Regions from separate parts of the Homo sapiens genome. Here region 1 is linked to region 2. Evidence: promoter capture Hi-C in 16 types of primary human blood cells and fetal thymus (Javierre and others, 2016). All regions are on one chromosome and are shown on one strand. Each heading gives the region's core, a stretch centred on a gene start or on the middle of the fragment in contact. The rest is flanking DNA. Distances are from core to core; before and after follow the strand shown. Region 1 overlaps AKAP8L (A-kinase anchoring protein 8 like). Region 2 holds the start of EPHX3 (epoxide hydrolase 3).

Region 1 (3,240 bases), core at 216-2,715, 170 kb before region 2:
GCTAGTAAAAGTGTGGGGAACCCCAGGCACGCCCCCTGCCCTCGGTCCCTCAGTAACGCGCAGTTCCAAGTCCTCAGTGGCTGGTGTCCGATCTGGGACCCTCGGTGCAGTTTTTACGGCTCTGGTGTGCGTATCCTCTCCCTTAGCACCTCTCCAGCCCCTGTTGGGATTCCGTGTCCCCCCACCTGAGTGATGAGCGCCAGCAGGTACCTAACAGCAAATCCAGCGTCAGCCCACTGTTGCCGCGGTGCCCGGTTGGGGGTGGGCAGGGCCATGTGAGCAGCCTCCCTGCATCCCACCACCTGGCCCCTCTGAACATGTGCCAGTGTCCCCACAAAGATACCCCCTCTTTGCTTTCCAGCCTCCTCCTGGCCCACTGCACAGAGAGCATGGGTGTCCTGGAGAGTGGAGGGGTCATCGCCTGGCCCCCACTCCTTGGGGCCTAGGCCAAACCCACTCCCTGCACAGCCCAGGATACCCAGCCCTGCTCATGGCCAGAGGCCTTGCTTGGACAGCTATTCTCGATGGACCCTCTGGAGTGGACAGTGGGTGATTCAGCCAGAGGCCGCAGGGCCTGCCCTGTCCTGGCAGAGCCAAATTGGTGACAGTGCCCATCTGCTCCCACAGGGGCCCTAACCACCCAGGATGAAAATGGCCAGACCAAGCGCAAGTTGCAGGCAGGCAAGAAGAGTCAGGACAAGCAGAAAAAGCGGCAGCGAGACCGCATGGTGGAAAGGTAACCAGCTTCCCTCCACCCCTCTGCCTCTGCCTCGCTGTGGGGCTGCCGCCAGGAGAGCAGGGCCATAGCTCTGCCAGCTCGCCGCCCTCTGGCCTCCCTTGGGAGCCGCCACCTGCTCGGCCGTGCATGGACCCTGCTTCCCGCCAGGCCCAGCTCCCAAGGCCTGACTCATCCCCTGCCCCTCTGCGGCCGCCTGGCGACCGCTGGCGTCTGTGGGCCGAGACCTGACACCGCTCGGCACCGTTGCTCAGAAGCTCTGGCGCTAGGTCACTCGGCGCACGAACCCCAAGGTGCACTGGGGGCCTGATGCCCCTGAGGGAGGGGGCCAGCTCATCAGAGACTCAAGGTCCAAGGCGCCTGTGCCGCCCCAGCTAGCTGCCAAGAGGCCACCGCCGTGCCCAGGAGAGATGGCAGCACCTGTGGGCTGTGGCAGCCTCGGGCCTGCCTTCTGCCCTGCCCGCCGGCCCTGTCAGGCCGGGCCTGTCTGCGGCTGAGCCCTTCACGCCCCTTGGTCGGGTCTGTCTGCCCTCAGGGCTCCCGCACTGGCGCTTGCCTCCTCCGCCTCAGACTCTTGCTCTTGCTGGACCTTCCTCAGCCTCGCCGGCGCCCGGCCCCTGGGCTCTCCAGACAAAGCTGACCCCGTGGCCCAGATAAGGACGTCCGGCAGAGGTAGGGACCCGCCCCGAGGTCTCGGTGGCGGCTGGCCTCCTCCGCCCCTTGCCACGGCGGCCTGCTCCGGCCCAGGCCCCAGACCCCGGGCTTCTACTGTGGACACCAGGCCCAGACAGAGCACCTCGCCCAGGTGACTCCAGGCTGCCCTCTGGCAGGCCGAGCGGGCGCCCTCCTTCCAGCTCAGACTGGTCTCTTCTTGGAAGAGGAAGATGAGGCAGCAGGTGCCCAGGCCTGCTGCCTCCCATCCCTCCCGACACCACCCCCAAGCATTCTGAGCAGAGGATGGGCTGGGCCTTTGAGTCCCCCAGATCCCAGAAGGAAGATGCAGCACCTTTTCGGGCCCTGCCTCGGGACTGCGTACTCCACTCTGCACCTCAGGGCCACCTGGCTCACGCCAGGGCATCCTTCCTTCCGGTCCCCACCTGGGCCAAGTGCACACGCTCCTGCCCAGCCTTGGTAGCGAGGCCCTCCAGCAACTTTCCAGCGACTCGTTGCCTGTTGCAGCAGCTGCTGTCTCAGGCTTCAGCCTCCTGCCTGTGGGAAGGAAGAGCTCCTCCCCTGTCCCCTACGTTGCAGTAACTGCAGCCTGCAGACTTTCTGGCCCTTTCTACTCCCGACCCCACTGGTCCCAGCCTGTCCCTCTGCTGGGACCGTACTTCAGAGGCCCGTGAGCAAGGCCTGTTTCAGGGCTTGTGTCTGGGTTGGGTGAGGCGGCAGCACTATCCCCTGGGACACTTGCAGCCTCAGCCCCTCGTTTCCTTCCTGTGGCAGGATCCAGTTTGTGTGTTCTCTGTGCAAATACCGGACCTTCTATGAGGACGAGATGGCCAGCCATCTTGACAGCAAGTTCCACAAGGAACACTTTAAGTACGTAGGCACCAAGCTCCCTAAGCAGACGGCTGACTTTCTGCAGGTGAGCCTTGGAGTAACACAGCCGCTCTTAGTTTCTTGGACCCCTGAGAACATAAGGCGGCCCACATGAACCTTTATATTCCTTGCAGGAGTACGTCACTAACAAGACCAAGAAGACAGAGGAGCTCCGAAAAACCGTGGAGGACCTTGATGGCCTCATCCAGCAAATCTACAGAGACCAGGATCTGACCCAGGGTGAGGAGATTTTCAGCCCACTCCCACCAGGCAAGGCCTCAGCCTGCACTCCTGATTTTCGGTGCAGGGTCAGGACACCCTTCTGTTCCCCCAGGGAAGGTCAGGAGACCAGCCTTGGCTCAGGCCCAGGTGGAAGTGGCAGGGCGAGTTGAGGAGGAGCTGGTGTGGTTTTTTTCTCGAACACCTGGGTCTATCTTAGGCACCTGGGCCCAGTGGTGACTCCCTCCTCCCCACTACAGAAATTGCCATGGAGCATTTTGTGAAGAAGGTGGAGGCAGCCCATTGTGCAGCCTGCGACCTCTTCATTCCCATGCAGTTTGGGATCATCCAGAAGCATCTGAAGACCATGGATCACAACCGGAACCGCAGGGTGAGTGGCCACAGTGCTCTCCCTCTGTCCTGTGGGTAGATTGAGTGAGGCCTCTGGGGAGGTTGTGCAGTTGGAACCTCTGCCAGCCCGTGAGGGACTGCAGTGGAGGCAGGAGGAGGTGGATATGGACATTTCCAGCTCAGTGCAGGCAGCACAGCTACAGAGAGAGGGGTGAGAGATGGGGACTCTGCCTGGGAGAAGGTGATATATTCTGTGGGATATGGGGACCTCCATGTTCATAGGGGCCAGCGCCAGATTAGGTTCAGAAACCAAATGGAGATGATACAGTGCAAGTGTTGCTGGAGGAGGGGGTTGGGCTTGAGGCTCAGGAGAGCTGCACTGAGAGGCCTGG
Region 2 (3,142 bases), core at 331-2,830:
AGTGCAGTGGCGCAATCTCAGCTCACTGCAACCTCCGCCTCCTGGGTTCACGCCGTTCTCCTGCCTCAGCCTCCCTAGTAGCTGGGACTACAGGCGCCCGCCACCACGCCTGGCTAATTTTTTGTATTTTTAGTAGAGACAGGGTTTCACCATGTTAGGATGGTCTCGATCTCCTGACCTCGTGATCCGCCCGCCTCGGCCTCCCAAAGTGCTGGGATTACAGGCGTGAGCCACCGCGCCTGGCCAGAAGCTGGCTTCTTGCAGGGACAGCAGGGCCGCAAGGCTCTGTGACTCTAGGCCCCATCACACCCGGCCCTGTCCCACTTCCTCTTTCGGCCAGAACCCCAGAACTCCAGTCATTCATAGGCCGGGTCCTCCTCGGGGGAACCAGGCCTGCCCCCTAGGAATCAGGGTATCCACGCCTCCTCGGCCCGCTCTCGGAGCCTGGGCCTCAACACCTGCAGATTGGCTCCCGGGCCAGGACCTGTCGCTTGAACATCAGTGGCCGCCGCCGTCCAATCACAGACGTACAGGGGCGGGCTGGCGGGCCTGTTGGGCCAGCAGGAGGACGGCGCCGGGCCGAGGCCGCTGGACCCGCCGTTGGAACCACAGCTGGGTGAAGTCAGTGCTGCTAGGTCTTTGGAGCCAGACCGAAGGGAGGGTCGCGCGCCCCTGGGTGGGTAGCACCAGGCGGCGGCCGTCGGCCGGGCCTCCCGAAGCCTCCTCCAGCCGCTAATACCGCCCGCGCCTCCCTCCTAGTCCTAGACCTGGCATTGCCTGTCCCTCTTCTTCGTCTTCCAGACCCTCCTGACCCGCCATATTAGGTCCCGGCCCCGCCCTCCGTCTCATTGCCCATTGCCCACCCCACCCCACCGCCCCCTCCCCGGCCTACCGTCAGCTCATTGGCCCAGGCTCCCGCCTTCTTCGCCCAATGTTAGGCCTCACCTCCTCTAGGATCCACCCTCTCCCCGCCCACCCGCATAAGCCAGGCCCACCATTCCAACTCTTTCTCCTTTTTGGCTTGTAGGCCGCACCTACTCTGCATATGCCCCGCCCCTCACTCCAGGTGTCGCCCACTTAACTGAAGATCCAGGATCCCCTCCTTAAGGTTTGTCTGGGCTCGGAATTGCCTTTTTTTTTTTTCTTTTTTGAGACGGAGTTTCCCTGTTGTGACCCAGGCTGGAGTACAGTGGCGCGATCTCAGCTCACTGCAACCTCCACGTCCCGGGTTCAAGCGATTCTCCTGCCTCAGCCTCCCAAGTAGCTGGGACTACAGGCGCCCGCCACCACGCCCAGCTAATTTTTGTATTTTTAGTAGAGACGGGGTTTCACCACGTTGCCCAGGCTGGTCTCGAGCTCTTGATCTCAGGTGATCCGCCCGCCTCGGCCTACCAAAGTGCTGGGATTACAGGCGTGAGCCACCGCACCCGGCCCGGAATTGCCGCCTTTAGACCCTCACCCACCCGCTGCTGAGTCTTCCTGGGCCCCGCCCCGGCCCTAAGCCCCGCACAGGACCTGCTAGGCCCCGCCCATTTATTTCCCCCCTTTCCAACCTCTTCCTCCCCAGCCTCCGCACCCTACCCTTGTTTCCTGTCCCTGTCGCGCCCAGGTGTTTACCTGGCACTCAGGTGAGTGGTGCGCTCTGGCTGTTTTCTGTCGGAGCCGCCCGCCTCTTCCTTCAGCGCGTCCCACAAATCCCGACGGCACGGAGGGGCCCCAGGCCAAGGGCGATGGGCCCCTGAGCCCTGACACCGCTTCGCCGCTGCTGCAGGTGCCCCTGGCCGGCAGCGCCGCCGTGGTCCCGGAGCGCGGCGACATGCCGGAGCTGGTGGTGACCGCGCTGCTGGCGCCGTCGCGCCTGTCGCTGAAGCTGCTGCGCGCCTTCATGTGGAGCCTGGTGTTCTCGGTGGCGCTGGTGGCCGCGGCGGTCTACGGCTGCATAGCGCTCACGCACGTGCTGTGCCGGCCCCGGCGCGGCTGCTGCGGGCGCCGTCGGAGCGCGTCCCCCGCCTGCCTGAGCGACCCCTCGCTGGGTGAGCACGGTTTCCTGAACCTCAAGGTGATCGCACGGGGGCGCTATCGGGGCTGCGGGGTCGCGTGGGGTCGAGACGGTTCAAGCCTCGGGAGAGAGGGTTCCCCAGGCTTCAGGCTGTGCCCTCCCCCTAGAGCTCGGGCCTGCGTCTGCACTATGTCTCGGCTGGACGAGGTAACGGACCCCTCATGCTGTTTCTGCACGGCTTCCCTGAGAACTGGTACGTCTGGGGCCAGGGGCCTGAGGCCCACGGGACTCGGGGGCAGGTGGAGCTTGGGCTCCCAAGAGGCAGGGAGGAGGGCTGTATAGATCGGGACAAGCTGAACATAGATGGGGATAGGGGTACTGAGCCAGCATACCCAGGATCCCTAGGCCCTGAAGGGACAGGACAAAGGGGTATTGAGGTTGATTGAAGTTCCCTGGATTCAGGGTGTAGCTGGCTTCAGCCTCAGCCTCTGCCTCTGCCTGGGATTCCCCATCCTCCTTTTAGGGGAAGTTTAGAGCAGGAAGGAGGGTTTGCCAATGGTTGCTGATGTGCGTAGGGTGCAGGTGCAACCTGAGGGCCCTGACTCAGCCTCCCTCCCTCGCCCGCCTGGCAGGTTCTCCTGGCGTTACCAGCTCCGGGAGTTCCAGAGCCGCTTCCATGTTGTGGCTGTGGACTTGCGAGGCTATGGCCCCTCGGATGCACCTCGGGATGTGGACTGCTACACAATCGACCTGCTGCTGGTGGACATCAAAGATGTCATCCTAGGCCTGGGTGCAGACATACCCCCATCCTAGGCGTGGCCTCCCTCATCCTGCACACACGCATACCCCCGCTTTCTCCTTGCTGGAACCTACTTCCCCCATCCCTGCTTCAGTCCTACTGGGCACCTCACTTATGCGAGCTCCTTGAATTCCCACAGGTTACTCGAAGTGCATCCTTGTGGCCCATGACTGGGGTGCCCTCCTTGCCTGGCATTTCTCCATCTACTACCCATCCCTGGTCGAGCGGATGGTTGTGGTCAGTGGTGCCCCCATGTCGGTGTACCAAGGTGTGTGTGGGAGTCCGGGACACTGGGATGTACTTATGTGCAAGGGGGCAGGGACATGTGTCTGTGTTTTCAATTC

Evidence for each region. The method cuts DNA at HindIII sites, captures the fragments that hold promoters and counts their contacts. A CHiCAGO score of 5 or more calls a contact.
Region 1: a fragment that was not itself captured here is called in contact with the fragment with the promoter of EPHX3 in region 2 in 4 of 17 cell types (activated CD4 T cells, total B cells, naive B cells and 1 more); the score reaches 5.9 in activated CD4 T cells.

What each region holds. Positions count from the first base shown.
Region 1 is chr19:15,396,798-15,400,037 of GRCh38, reverse strand. AKAP8L (A-kinase anchoring protein 8 like) reads left to right here. Exons shown (of 14, transcript NM_014371.4): 9 at 628-736; 10 at 2,183-2,324; 11 at 2,413-2,518; 12 at 2,758-2,888. Among named protein-coding and RNA genes, the nearest start is that of AKAP8, 19 kb to the right of the region's middle. The HindIII fragment of the contact is 5,088 bases long and covers 1-3,240 here.
Region 2 is chr19:15,230,886-15,234,027 of GRCh38, reverse strand. EPHX3 (epoxide hydrolase 3) reads left to right here and starts at 1,580. Exons shown (of 7, transcript NM_024794.3): 1 at 1,580-2,059; 2 at 2,167-2,252; 3 at 2,632-2,789; 4 at 2,938-3,066. The coding sequence starts at 1,817. RefSeq lists a silencer at 831-990 and an enhancer at 1,329-1,830. The HindIII fragment of the contact is 10,766 bases long and covers 1-3,142 here.